Linked DNA regions of Homo sapiens: all the other regions are linked to region 3. The links are contacts of gene promoters, found by promoter capture Hi-C in blood cells and fetal thymus (Javierre and others, 2016). All regions are on one chromosome and are shown on one strand. The core of a region is centred on a gene start or on the middle of the fragment in contact, and the rest is flanking DNA. Distances in the headings are between cores, read along the strand shown.

The links. Contacts are between HindIII fragments. The CHiCAGO score rates a contact against its expected background, and 5 or more counts as called.
Region 1: a contact is called between a fragment that was not itself captured here and the fragment with the promoter of PATL1 in region 3, in 1 of 17 cell types (neutrophils). The highest score is 5.7, in neutrophils.
Region 2: a contact is called between a fragment that was not itself captured here and the fragment with the promoter of PATL1 in region 3, in 2 of 17 cell types (activated CD4 T cells and non-activated CD4 T cells). The highest score is 5.3, in activated CD4 T cells.

Annotation. Positions count from the first base shown.
Region 1 is chr11:59,917,146-59,921,872 of GRCh38, forward strand. No RefSeq gene overlaps it. Among named protein-coding and RNA genes, the nearest start is that of OOSP1, 19 kb to the right of the region's middle. RefSeq lists a silencer at 4,324-4,484. The HindIII fragment of the contact is 2,575 bases long and covers 1,916-4,490 here.
Region 2 is chr11:59,525,193-59,530,179 of GRCh38, forward strand. No RefSeq gene overlaps it. Among named protein-coding and RNA genes, the nearest start is that of OR4D9, 16 kb to the left of the region's middle. RefSeq lists a silencer at 941-1,222 and an enhancer at 3,202-3,703. The HindIII fragment of the contact is 9,501 bases long and covers 1-4,987 here.
Region 3 is chr11:59,667,038-59,671,927 of GRCh38, forward strand. PATL1 (PAT1 homolog 1, processing body mRNA decay factor) reads right to left here and starts at 2,000. Exons shown (of 19, transcript NM_152716.3): 1 at 1,844-2,000. The coding sequence starts at 1,858. It overlaps PATL1-DT (PATL1 divergent transcript), which reads left to right and starts at 2,273. Exons shown (of 4, transcript NR_187296.1): 1 at 2,273-2,505. RefSeq lists a silencer at 1,730-2,079 and enhancers at 2,039-2,333, 2,260-2,549. The HindIII fragment of the contact is 2,400 bases long and covers 381-2,780 here.

The sequences.
Region 1 (4,727 bases), core at 1,953-4,452, 250 kb after region 3:
CATGGGAACCCTGGGCCCCCAGCCCACAAAACCACTTTTTCCTCCTAGGCCACTGGGCCTGTTATGGCAGGGGCTGTGGTGAAAACCTCTGATATGCCCTAGAGACATTTTCCACATTGTCTTGGGGATTAACACTTGGCTCCTCATTAATTATACATATTTCTGCAGCCGGCTTGAATTTCTCCTCAGAAAATGGGATTTTCTTTTCTATCACATTGTAAGGCTGCAAATTTTCCAAACTTTTATGCTGTGCTTCTGTTATAAAACTGAATGCCTTTAACAGTATGCAAGTCATCTCTTGAATGTTTTGCTGCTAGAAATTTCTTCTGCCAGATACCCTAAATCATCTCTTTCAAGTTCAAAGTTCCACGAATCTCTAGAGCAGGGGCAAAATGCTGCCAGTCTCTTTGCTAAAATGTTAAGAGTCACCTTTGCTCCAGAGTCACCTTTGCTCCAGTTCTCAACAAGTTCCTCATCTCCATCTGAGATCACCTCAGCCTGGAATTCCTTGTCCATATCATTATCAGTATTTTGGTCAAAGCCATTCAGCAAGACTCTAGGGAGTTCCAAACGTTCCCACATTTTCCTGTCTTCTGAGCCCTCCAAACTGTTCCAACCTCTGCCTGTTGCCCAGTTCCAAAGTTGCTTCCACATTTTCAGGTATCTTTTCAGCAGTGCCCCACTCTACTGGTACCAATTAACTGTATAAGCCCATTTCATGCTGCTGATAAAGACATGCCCCAAGACTGGGCAATGTACAAAAGAAAGAGGTTTAATAGACTTACAGTTCCACATGGCTGGGGAGGCCTCACAATCATTGTGGAAGGTGAAAGGCAGGTCTCACATGGTGGCAGGCAAGAGAAGAGATCTTGTGTGGGGAAACTCCCATTTTTAAAACCATCAAATCGCGTGAGACTTATTCACTATCACAAGAACAGCACAGGAAAGACCTGCCCCCATGATTCACTTACCTCTCACCAGGTTCCTCCCACAACATGTGGGAATTACAGTACAAGATAAGATTTGGGTGGGGACACAGCCAACCCATGTCACACCTTTTCCTCTATGATCAGTTCCTTTGACAACTAAAGAACTCTGCTTAAATGAGGCCTTCCCTGACTCAAAAAATTACTTAAAATCCTATCCTCTGTCCTACATTAAACTTTTTACCTGCCTTATTCTTTCACAGTATTTATCACCATCTAATGTGATATATAATTTGCTTATTTTTTATTTTCTGTATTCTTTCCTTATAATGTCACCTACATGAGGTTTCCAGTGCATAGAAGAGAACTGGCACATGATATATTTCATTTACTCTGACATGGACAGTTTTTTACACAGTAAAAAAATCAGAATTCTAGAAAGTTTATAATCAGCTATATATAATGATTGGTCAGTGGACAGGAATGCTGTAGCTGTCATCATTTGCACATGGAGAACTTGGTCTGAAACTTTCTGTTGGCGCCTCTTGGTAAGGTCAGAGAGTGCTGGCATAAAAATTTGAGAAATAAGTACCACCAATTGGCATACAATCTGGAGAGAAGAATGAAGCATTCTTTTAAGAGATATTGCATCACCAATGGTGGTGATGGCTCAAAGAGAGATATATTTGTGGGGAAACAGGAACATTGATGACTGCGATCCAAGAAGTGATTTAGAAGAGTGAGACTCACTGTAAAAATATTTTAGGGTTACTTCAACCAATTAATTTTGTTTATACTTGCTTTTTGTTACACTTGCTTTTGTATACAGCACAAGAGTGATATGATTAAAGATGTCCATAAGAGCTCTTTCAATTTTTATAAAATTCAAAGACTAAGTAGTAAAATGTGCCTGATTCATTGGTAGTTTCTTTAATCCTAAAGATATAAAGTTTCCTTAATCTTCGTATGAAAAATAGTGGTATAGTTAAAGCTTAGATTCAATGAAAAATGGGAGGAGATGCTCAAATATTTGTTAGATGAGTGAATAAAAATTCACCCCAGACTTTTTTTTTCCTTCCAAAGGGCCCTGTGGCTTCCTTCCTCTAAACCCATTAAACAGTGCCATCTGCAGGGAAGGCAGCTCATGACATCATGTTTAAATATTAGAAGAACAATAACAAGGTAAAAAAATTGGCAATGCCACCATTCAGCTCTCTGTGAGTATCTCTTAAAACTAGAAGTTTATTCTGACCCATCCATGAGTCAGATCTAAGATAAGCAGTTATTATCTTTAGGCAAGACTGAGTCGGCACATCAGATAGATAAAGGAAAGAGAGAGAAAGAGTTAAAATGTTTGTGCAGCCTATATTTTTCTGGCTAACAGCCACTAGGAAAAGCTGGATTGAGAAAGACCTACATTAACTTTCTTGTGTTCTAGTAACTAAACTTTTAGGCAAAGCCTAAGACTGTCCTGTTTAAACGAACTGTTTCTATCTAATAAGAAATTATAATGATATGGTATGATGGCAAAGCTATTTTAGAGGCCTGGACTCTCCATTAACCACAGCAGTTTAGCAGAGAACAAGGTCTCTGCCACAATCCATTATCCTAAATTAGCACGTGGGTGTTGGAGATGGGGGATGGCATGACAGCTCCATATGAGTATTAGGGGTTAATAAATGGAAAAGGCTGCTGCTGCTAAATCCAGCCCTATAATTACATTTTGGTCTCTGGGTCAGTTCCAGGTCACTAGCATCTCAACTAGCCTAAAACCCATATAATGCTTATTTGTAATTTTAATTTTTAGTTCCGTATTAATGGCATTTTATATGCCCCCAGTCATAATGGAACAAGAGTGAATTTGGGCATCAGAGATGCTGATTTTACTACTGATGGAATCTCAGGCCTACGTGCTGTCTGAATGCTCATGCAGTGGTTGTAGATACTGTACTTTACCTTTTAGATGGTGAGGGTGTTGAAAAGGTATTTTTTTTTCATTTCCATGTAGGTGCTTTTGTGACCATAAAATCAGTTTTACAATTAAAGTGATGCCTACATTCCTGCAGTGCATCTCTTTTCAAGAGCTTTGTTTAATAATCTCTACATGCAATAAAGGAATTGCATCTCTCTCTTTTGTGCCTCTCATGGACTTTCTTCCTTCCCCCGGTGCCCTCTGCTGCATTCTTCCTTCTTTGACTGCCAGTCCTGGTTTCTGACAATGTAACCTTGGCTGGAACTTAGGTGATGATTTTGCTTTCCTTGTTTGGTTGAGTAAACTTGTAACCCCAGGAACATGTGGAAAAAAATAGGTATAAAGTGTGCATGTTGTGTTTATAGGGATGTGGTGAAACATTTTCCAGTCACTATGCTGCTTTATGGGTGCTGTGACTTAAGATGCTTAAGGGGATTTGAGCTACTAAATATCTAAGTTTCAGTTTGTATTTATGAGTGTGATTTAAGTCATTGGGAGAGTTTATTCTAATTAGTAAGTCTGCTTTGTTAGAAATTTGAAACATTTGAGAGAATCAGATATATTAAATATGTAACTATACTTAAAATATCTGAGGATATTGACATTAAATTGCATCAGATGAGTAGGGAAGACATCATTTGTAAACTTGGATTAATTGTACATTAATCAAAGAAAAAGTAAAAAAAGTAATGATTTTAATACTTGAAAAAATAGGATTTATAGGTTGAGATACTTTAAAAAGTTTTACATATGTTTCATCAATATAATACTTATTAGAACAAAATAAAATTAAAATTTTCTTGCACAGAAATGCCTTTAAGATAGTAAAATGTCAGTAACAAATATCACATACTTAAAATTTAGTTCCATAGAAATATGTGATCTGGGAAACTGCAGTTTCTTAACAAGGCTGTGCTTTCTTGGAGAAAATGTATGGAAACAGGACATTGATAGCTAGGAACACCTTCTCCAAAAATGACTGGGTATCTTATGATGCCTTTGGGAAAAGGCATCTACTGAGGTGGTCATATGATTATTCTTTTTTATTCGGTTTATATTCACTAGAAATTGTAATTTTCACTGGATATTGAAGCCTAGATTGTTATTTTTTAAGTCAGCATTTTGAACATGAATTTTTGTCTACTGTTCTCCCTATTTCCTTCTGATACATCAGCCTTCATTCTTATTACTCTCCAATTGTAATGTGTCTATATTAGTCTGTTCTCACACTACTATAAATACATATCTGAAACTGGTTACTTATAAAGAAAAGAAGTTCTGCAGGCAGTACAGGAAATATGGCTGGGAGGCATCAGGAAACTTACAATCATGGCAGAAGGCGAAGGGGAAGCAAGCATGTCTTACATGGTGGGAGCAGGAGAAAGAAAGAGTGAAGGGGGAGGTGCTACACACCTTTAAACAACCAGATCTTGTGAGAACTCACTCACTATCATGAAAGCAGCAAGGGGGAAATACATTACCATGATTGAATCACCTCCCCACCAGGCCCCTCCTCCAGCACTGGGGATTACAATTTGACATGAGTTTGGGAGGGCCACAAATCCAAGCCATATCAGTGTCTTTTTAAAAAAAGCTTGGGAATCTTTTTATATTTCTTGTTTGCAGCAGGAAAATTGTCTTTGCACTGGCACTTTAGTTGCACCTTGTATAGGCATTGCATTTCTCCATCAGGTGGGCAGCTTCTGGATGGTCTGGTTTATGATATGACCTGTGGAACTCTTGATCATGTGTCCTGCCCTGCACTTCTTGTTATAAATGAGTCCATTGGTCTGGCATGATGTTATCTGGTATCATGCTGGTGGTGAATT
Region 2 (4,987 bases), core at 1,754-4,253, 140 kb before region 3:
GAATTCTGAATCATCCCAATCCACATGGGTCCACCACTTACTAGCTGTATACCCTTGGCCAAATAACTTATCTTTTCCTAGCCTCAGTTTCCTTATCTGTAAAACAAAGGATTTACCTCAAAGTATTGCTGTCAGAGCTAAATGAGCTGCAGCAAGCAAAGAACCCAGAAAAAATAGCTCAGTTCAGATTTGCTGTCTGCCCCTCCCCACCTGCATTTGGATGGCCCTAAGTATGATAACTCACACACCCCTTGGTTCTTAAATATGCTCTGGATCTGAGTTTAACCCTGATCCTTGAATTGTTTCTTTTTTTATCATGTGTATTGGTCTTTTCAATAACAGCTTATAAACCTGCCTATGTGAGGTATGAGAAACACAGTTGGAGTCGTGCAAATAATCTAGATTTTTGTATATATCTGTAGCAGTTTGGATACTGCAGAATGAATATATTCTAGAGTCAGATGTAGACTAGATAGCCCTTAACTGCCAACCCTCAGTTGAAGAGACAAAGAAAAAGAAATCCGTTTGTTAAGTATTTTCACTATTTTTTTCTGATTACACATGGTTATTGATGTGATTGAATATATATGTATATTAATATACCTATATACTCAAATAATATGGAATAATATAGAGATTGTTATATATTCAAACAATGGGATATATCACATATATGTGTATAAACAATATGGAAATCTCCAACATTAATTTATTTCTAAGAGATCTGTTAACACCTTTGATCACTTACTTTAAGGCTTTTTTTTTTTCAGACAGTCTCACTCTGTTGCCCAAGCTGGAATGCAGTGACACGATCTCAGCTCACTGAAACCTCTGCCTCCCAGGTTCAAACAACTCTCCTGCCTCAGCCTCCTGAGTAGCTGGGATTACAGGCGTGTGCCACCACGCCTGGCTAATTTTTGTGCTTTTTTAGTAGAGAAAGGGTTTTTCATTTTGGGCAGGCTAGTCTCAAACTCCTGGCCACAAGCAATCTGCCTGCTGTGGCCTCCCAAAGTGCTGGGATTACAGGCGTGAGCCACCGAGCCCAGCCAGAGCATTGAATAATCTTAAACACTCCATGAATTGATGATACTCATCAACCCCTTAATCATCAATATCTTTCTTGTTTTCAGTTTTATTTTACCTTCATTGATGCTGGTATTGCATTTTGTTGTTGTTTTGTTTGTTTGTTTTGAGATGGAGTCTCGCTCTGTTGCCCAGGATGGAGTGCAGTGGCGTAATCTCAGCTCACTGCAACCTCCGCCTCCCGGGTTCAAGCGATTCTCCTGCCTCAGCTGGGACTACAGGCATGCGCCAGGATGCCTGGCTACTTTTTGTATTTTTTAGTAGAGACAGGGTTTCGCCATGCTAGCCAGGGTGGTCTCGATCTCCTGACTTCGTGATCCACCCACCTCGGGCTCCCACAGTGCTAGGATTACAGGCATGAGCCACCGCGCCCGGCCTTGTTGTTGTTTTAAACAGAGTTTCACTCTGTCACCCAGGCTGGAGTGCAGTGGCATGATCTCGGCTCTCTGTAACCTCTGCCTCCCAGGATCAAGCAATTCTCTTGCCTCAGGCTCCCGAGAAGCTGGGATTACAGGCGCCTGCCACCATACCCGGCTAATTTTTGTATTTTTAGATTTTTAGTACAGACGAGGTTTCACCATGTTGGCCAGGCTGGTCTCAAACTCCTGACTCAAGTGATTCGCCCACCTCGGCCTCCCAAAGTGCTAGGGTTACAGGTCTGAGCCACTGCACCTGGCCTTTTGCTAGTATCTCAATTTAAAGTAATAAAAATGGAATAAGGACCAGCATAAATATAATTAGTTGAGGGCATTTGGGGCCGAGGAAGAGCATGAGCACAGATATGGTCCAGCAAACTTCAATTTGGAGGAACAGCACTGTATGGGCAGGGCAGTAACCAAAAAAGAAGAAAGAAAAACCAAGAAAGGAAAGGAAAGTGTTGGAGCCAGGTAAGAAGGTAGGAACTGGGGTCAAATGCTAGAAGTTGACTCGGAAGACATTAGCATACCTTTAAGCAAAGGTACCCAAGGCTTACTGATTAATCGTTAAGCATATGAATGTCAAGCTCAGTTTTAATCCTACTTCTATCATTTACTGACCCATGAAAATCTTGACATTAATACACGGAAGTGACTGCAAATCACATAAATGCATGCTGCTAGATCCAAAATAAGTGTATCCTAACTCAACCTCACCTTAACTAGATCCCCAAAATGCCTGTGACCTCTCTAAAGCCACCAAACTAAGAATTGTGATGGAAGGGAGTTCAGAGAAGAAACAGGAGCCCCAGCTGATTGTGGTTATAATATTTTACTATTGCAAGCTCTACAAAAACATGTGACCCTGTGAGCATATTGCTAGGGCACTTCCCAGGGCCTTGGGCTCCTCAAATAAGGGGCTACAAGGCTTAAGCTCCATTAGCCTCATGAGAAATCCAATTTTAATCCTCTAGCCAGACCAAGGCCTCCTCAGAACTGGAACCCCTGGGACTGAGTCAAATGTACTAACATAGGTCTGTCATAGATTTCATCTTTTTAGAATTTCATAATACAGGTACCAGTGAAGTGCTGCATAAACCACATTCAAAACTAAGATTTTATTTCTAGACAAACCTGACCTGTGAATATATTGGTGCCAGGTAATCTCTTTAACAAACAAATCACATTTACATTCAAAATGGCATCTGCAGGGGTGAGATGCAGTTTTCCACTCGATCCTGGAATGGCAAGAAGAGGCCCTTGTGCCTCAGGGGCACTAACAGGTTGCTTCCTTCTAACAGACGTCCCTGGGGATAGGAGCCCTCCGCTGTGATTTAAGGTGCAAAAAACTGACTATTTCAATCTGCTTGCTCCTTCTTTACATTTGGGAATTTCTAATTCTTTGAATGTTATAGCTAACTCCAGGCTAACAAAGACCTCCCTTCTTTCCACACTTTGTTAAAAATCTTTCTCAAGATAGGGCACAGTGGCTTATGCCTGTAATCCCACCGCTTTGGAAGGCTGAGGCAGGAGTTCGAAAAAATAAATATTCTACCATTGCTCTATGAATGTAGCAAGGTTGGCATCCAAATCTCATGACTTCCAAGATGGTGTCTTTTCTCTATACCCTATTACTTCTGATTATAGTTCAACACAAAAGCAAAAAAACAAAACAAAAAAAAAAAACTTGTATGCATTATCTTGTGTTCTGATTTTTCTTAATACTTTTAAATATTTACTCTGAAGAAAATACCTGGCCTTTTAAAAACGAAAAATGTTTGAAAATGATGACATTCGCTGAGTTATTGATGGATTAATAATTAATTGGGAGTCAGCCTAGAAAATTGGCTTTGTGTTGCTTGAACTTCAAAGGGAAGATCATAGGAGGTAAATTAGCTGAGTAGAAGTTGTGCTCTGATGAAACAATGAGAGGTAAAGTACTGTGAAATCCAGAGAGCTCAGCGGTTAGCAGCAGGACCAGACATTGGCCTCAGTATGGGCAGAACATGGAGGGAAAGTGTACAAAGGCACATCAAACATACACACAGTGGGACATTAGTTAAAGCGGCAAAAACAGATTTTATTCAGTAACTACTGACAGTAGGGGAATGAGCTGGGCTCCATTGTGATTCGTGCAGAGGTGGTTCGAGCATTTTACAGGGAGAATGAATGAAGAATGGGCGAGTGTGAGGTCTCAATAGAGTCAGAGAAGTGAAAAATTGCAAACGGTTCGTCAGTGTCAATGCGATGAGGCCAGCTGTGTCTGCTAGCTGGCAATCATCAAAGGATTCCACCCTCCCACAGAGACTGGAAGACAGAGGCTTCATCCTTTTTGATAATTACATTTCAAAGGAATGGCTCCCAGGTCCTTAAGAAAGACATTTCTGAGTTCTAAGAGATGCATGTTCACAATCATAAGCCCTTTTTTGTAAATGCTCTAAGTAAGGGAGGTCAGAGGCCTATCATCAGGGTTCGGGTAAAACAAACCGTAAATTCTCCTGGCAGTATTGAGCTTACTCAAGCAGGCATTTAATGGGGGGCTGCGGTCATTCTAAGGAAACAGCCTTATGCTGCTAGAAGCCATGTGAGAGTTTGGTCTAGTTCAGGGGTTTCGACGGAGCTATATGCGGAGAGTTCTGCAGTTCTCAGGAGCATGAGGTTTGGGGGATAATGGAGATACTCATTATCCTAATTGTAGTGTCAGTTTCACAGGTGTGTGTGTGTGTAAGTGTGTGTGTGTGTGTGAAAACTCATCAAGTTGTACCCTTTAAATATGTGCAGCTTATAATATATAAGTTATACTTTAGCAAAGCAAGGGGCAATTTCATTTTAAGCAGTTTGCAAAACACAAAAGACATCCAGAAGCCTGTCAGCACCCAAACTGGTATTTATTTTAAATGTTCTTTTTAAAACAGAGTGGAAAGCAGGAGGAGTTAAATTAGGATTTACAAGAAGTGATGTTTGGCAATAAAAGTTAAAAAGAGTGTTTCTTTACTTTGTACTCTAATTGTTTTATCCTTTGACTTATCTACTTTTTAAAAGTTAATATCTTTTTTTTTTTTTTTTTTTGAAACAATGGTCTCACTCTGTCGCCCAGGCTCGAGGGCAGCGGCACAATCTCGGCTCAGTGCAACCTCCGCCTCCCGGATGCAAGCAATTCTTGTGCTTCAGCCTCCCAAGTAGCTGGAACTACAGGTGCCCACCACCACGCCCAGGTAATTTTTTGTATTTTAATACAGACTAGTTTTCATCATGTTGCCCAGGCTGGTCTGGAACTCCTGAACTCAGAAAATCTACCCGCCTTGGCCTCCCAAAGTGCTGGGATTACAGGCAGGAGCCACCACGCACAGCTTTTATTTCTTTTTTTTTTTTTTTTTTTTTTTTGAGACGGAGTCTCGCTCTGTTGCCCAGGCTAGAGTGCAGTGGGACAATCTCGGCTCACTGCAAGCTCTGCCTCCCGGGTTCACGCCATTCTCCTGCCTCAGCCT
Region 3 (4,890 bases), core at 750-3,249:
ATCTTACCTTCTCAATGAACATAATTGCTTCATTATGACTTTTTGTAAAGATGGCATTTTTTTTCTACTTCCCAATTTCCCTGACACTGGAAGATTTCATCATCTTTCTTTCACTTTCTATTTCCTAATCCTTATTTCATTTAATTCTTGCCCCACCTCACAGCATTCCATTTCTCTATTTTATCAAGAATCCACGAACAGCAGTTCCTCATGCAACCAAGAAATTAAGCCCACAACTTTCCTTACATCACTGGTTGGAATACTGATGACAATTAATAATGAACCCTTTATTTTCTTGTATCTTTATGTATCTTTTCCAGCAAAATTCTCATCTTTCTCATTATATTCATGTCATCTTTTCAACTATTATTCCGTTTTAAAGCTTTGTCTTCATTTTCCATCTTTCTTATCTTCCCTATAGGCCTAAACTCTAGTGATGAAACAGAAAATTAGGTCTTCAACCACAATAAAATGAACTCTGGAAAAGCTGTGGTATGACAAGTTCAAGTTCTGGCTCCATTCCTACAATCAGTGTGAACATGGGCAACTCAGAAAATTTCTAATTAATTCATCAAATACCTTTTAAGGACCTATTGCGTCTAAGGTTCTGTGCTAGGCTGTAAGGCTCAATGTCTTACATTGTAATGCAGGGACAATACCAACTATGGCAGAGAGTTGTGATGATCAAAGTGGGCAAAGATTACAGATTATCGAACAAAGGCTAGAGGCCACCACATCCTAGGTGTGTTCTATTTTCCCCCTTTACTTCAATCTTACTCAACTGATTTATTCTCCAAGTTTTCCTTTTGGTTTGGTCTTAGATCATTCCTATCAAGTATACCTGTCCTCAATTTTCAAAAATTCAGAATCAGAATTCCATATTCTATCAGTAGGTACGTTTGTGATACACCTTGCCTGGCTACCTCTTAGCTACCCTGTTTACAATGGAAAGATTAGGTCAAAGGGCGTTCTTCTTACCCCAGAGCCCTTCCAAACTCATGCCAATAGGCATGCCACTGCCTCCTTATCAGAGGCAACTTCCAGCAGTACTCCCTTCCAAATCACAAATATCTACTTTACCAAATCGCTGCTTTTTTAAATTAAAAATTCTTAAGGATCATTTACATCAGTTCTTTCATGCTACAAATTCAGAAAGTTTACGTCCAGAGATTAGGAGTCACTCAAGGTCACACAGTGAGTTGGTGACAGGGTCAGTACTGTCTGCTGCTATTGCTACATTCCCGGCACCTTCTCCAAACCCGCGTCTCCCAGCACTAGCCCAGAAGGAACTTCTGCAGGACACGCCCCCCTCCCAACTCGGAGCCCTCTTTAGTAAACGGGCTGGGGCCCTAATCCAACGGCAAGCCCAGGCCCCCTTCACCTGAAGGTAGCCTGTGTGAATGGGATGTGTGTCAGTGTAATTCGAGTGGAGGTGGGTGGGGGGTGGTTCCGGGTCCAGGGCGGGAAACGCGGCTCTGGGAATTCCCGGGTGACACCTACTTAAGAAAAGCACCCGGGGAGATGCAGTGCTCTACCCTCCGTGGCTCCTCTAGGGGTGGGGGCGGGGGTGTGGTCTGGTTACAGCACTTAACGGGCCCTCCCCACCCCAAAACGGAGGCCAACTTTCCCCAGCGGCAACTAATGGGACTGTCTCGACCCATGAAGCCAGCTCCCAGCCCTAGGATTAGACCCGCGACCCCAGACCAGTCGCGTCCAGCTAAGTCCTGCGACTCCCCCAGCCCGCCCCCTGCCCCGCAGGAACACAGGACCGGCGCGCGGAGAGAGAGTGAGGGAGAGGGGCGCGGGAGGGAGGGAGGGGTCACTTCCGGTCGCAACAGCTCACCTCGTAGCGGAACATTCTTGGGGAGGGGGGCAGGGAGCGGGGAGGGGAGAGGGGGAGGGAGGGAAGAAGCGCTGACTCCCCGGCTCCTCCGCGCGCGGGTCCTCCACCGGCTCGCGACCCCTGGCCGCCGCCGTACGCCGGAGCGTGCGTGGGGACGTGCGCAGGCGCGCCTCAGGCAGGGCGGCCACCCCGCTCGGCGCCCGGCGGCGGCGGCTGCGCAGGGACAGATTTGGCGTCCCGCTTCCTAGTCTCAGCGGCGGGAAGGAGGTCCCGTGGCGAGAGACTGCGCACGCGCTGCCCGTCTTCGGCTGCCTGGTGATCTGGGCTTGTAGCTCCGCCCCCTCTTTCTCCGCGCCCTCTAGGCGCTCGGCTTGGAGCTCAGGGGCCGGTCACGAGTTCTCCGTCACCCGTGGGGCGGAGAAAACCCTTGTGATTGTCACAGGATATAGCTTTGAAGAATCCTGCGCTTAGCCTGGGCTGGGAAAGATGAGATTCCCGGGCAGTTTTTCCAACGTCCGACTCACTCCTCAGGCTGCTCGGGGGTCTCCCCGTTGCAATCTGCGCCTTGCGCAGGGAAAAAAGAATGGAAAGTTGCTGGTCTTCGAAAGGGGCGGACTTCGTCGCCACTTTCAGCGGCTCGTCGCCTGCTGAATCCACAGCAGGTCAGGGCTGTGATTTATGTGGCTCAAAGTGATGACGGCGCCCGTTTTTTTTTTTTTTTTTTTTGAAATGCTGAAGACAGGTTCCGGGAGGTTTAACTAGGGTGGTATTTTTAAGCGCCAGGCTCATTAGGCGCGAGGAGCTGCAGAGCCTCGAAGGGCCGCACGGCCGTGGGCCGCTGGCCACGCAGCAGCAGGGTCTTCGGGCCGTGGTGCGCCGCTGGGTGACTCCACTTCCTTAGAGGATCGAACCCACAGAGGAATGTGTCCAGCTTAGAAGCTTCGGCCCCCTGGTTCCAGAATTCTGTTGGGTGGTTTGTTACCTCTAGCACGCTCCATGCCCTTCTTGCCCCTTTCCTTTCAGACAAAACTTGCAGCACAAAGAATGAATTCTTTTGGGTTTCGCAATCCGTTTCTTCCCTGGGCGTCTTAAAATGCAGCCTCGTCTCGGAATGGCATACAGTAAATCCCCTAAATGTTAGTGTGTCTGGATCAGTTTGAGTATCGGAAACGCTGAATTTGTGAAGAAAAGTTCTGGGTGGGAGCTTGTGCTTTGCCACTGGCTAGGAAACTTTGGGCAACTTACCTAAACCTCTCTGAGCCTTAGTTTCTTGTAAAATGGGTATAATTACACCTGCCTCATGATGGTAACACTACTAACGATTGAAGGCTGCCTGGGACTCTGCTAGGCGCTTTATAAAATGGATTATCTCATTGAATCCTTCCTTATGTGCCCCCCATGAGGTAGGTACTGTTATTTTCTCAGTTTACAGTTGAGGAACCTGAGGATTAGCGACATTGTTTGCCTCCAACCACCCAATGGCAAGTGGTAAAGCTAGCAGCTGAGATTTGTCTGATTATTAAAAACCGAGTGTCTTAATCACTGTGCCAGAATAACAAAAGCAAATGTTGACATGGGCCAGGCCTGAACTTTAAAGAAGTGGAGCGTCGGGACAAGATGATTTATTGGTTTTCAAGCATGCATGGAACATTATAAAACATCAAATACTAAGTAACAGGCCAGGCGCGGTGGCTCACGCCTGTAATCCCAGCACTTTGGGAGGCCGAGGTGGGCGGATCACAAGGTCAAGGAGATCTAGACCATCCTGGCTAACAGAGTGACACCCCGTCTCTACTAAAAATACAAAAAATTAGCCGGGCGTGGTGGCGGGCGCCTGTAGTCCCAGCTACTCGAGGGGCTGAGGCAGGAGAATTGCGTGAACCCGGGAGGCGGAGCTTGCAGTGAGCCGAGATCGCACCACTGCACTCTAGCCTGGGTGACAGAGCAAAGACTACGTCTCACAAAAAACAAACAAACAAACAAAAAAAACTAAGTAGCAGTACATCTTAATAATTACCAAAGAATTGGTGCCATGTAGATCAAGGGTTAGCAGACTATGGCCCACAGTCCAATCTGGCCAGCCACCCGTTTTTGTAAAGCAAGCTTTATTGGAATACAGCCAACCTTATTTATTTACATATTGTCTTTGATTGCTTTAATGTTATAAAGTCAGAGTTGAGTGGTTACAATGGATACAGTGTGGCCTGTAAAGTGTAACATATTTACTATTTGGCGCTTTACAGAGTTTGCTGATCCCTGATCTTGCAGATCATGTTTTCTGATCATTATGTAAGATATCAATAGTAAAAACAGATTAGGAAAAAAGTCTTAAGTTTTCAGAAATTAAAAAAGAAAAAAAAAAGTCCTGGCGCGGTGCCTCACGCCTGTAATCCCAGCACTTTGGGAGCCCGAGGCGGGCAGATCACGAGGTCAGGAGATGGAGACCATCCTGGCTAACATGGCGAAACCCTGTCTCTACTAAAAATACTAAAAATACAAAAAAATTAGCCGGGCGTGGTGGCGGGCGCCTGTAGTCCCAGCTACTCGGGAGGCTGAGGCAGGAGAATGGGGTGAACCCAGGAGGCAGAGCTTGAGGTGAGCCGAGTTCGCGCCACTGCACTCTAGCCTGGGTGACAGAGCGAGACTCTGTCTCAAAAAACAACAACAACAACAACAACAACAACAACAAAAACCAAAAAACCCCTCCAATTCAATGACTAAATAATGGAAAGCAGAAAATAGTTACAACTGATGTGGTGGGTGGATTGCATGAGCTCAGGAGTTGGAGACCAGCCTACGCAACATGGCGAAACCGCGACTCTACAAAAAGCACAAAAATTAGCTGGGTTAGTTGTTTTATTAGCTGCTCTGCATTATTTCTGGTCGTGGTGGTGTGCACCTGTGCCTGTAGTCCCAGCAGCTACTCGGGAGACTGAGGACGAAAATAGGGAAGCCTGAATATAAATTAGCTATAAAATAAACCCAAAGAAAGTACAAGGAAAGAAATGCTGTAGAGCAGGAATTAAAGGAGCAGAAAACAAAGTGTC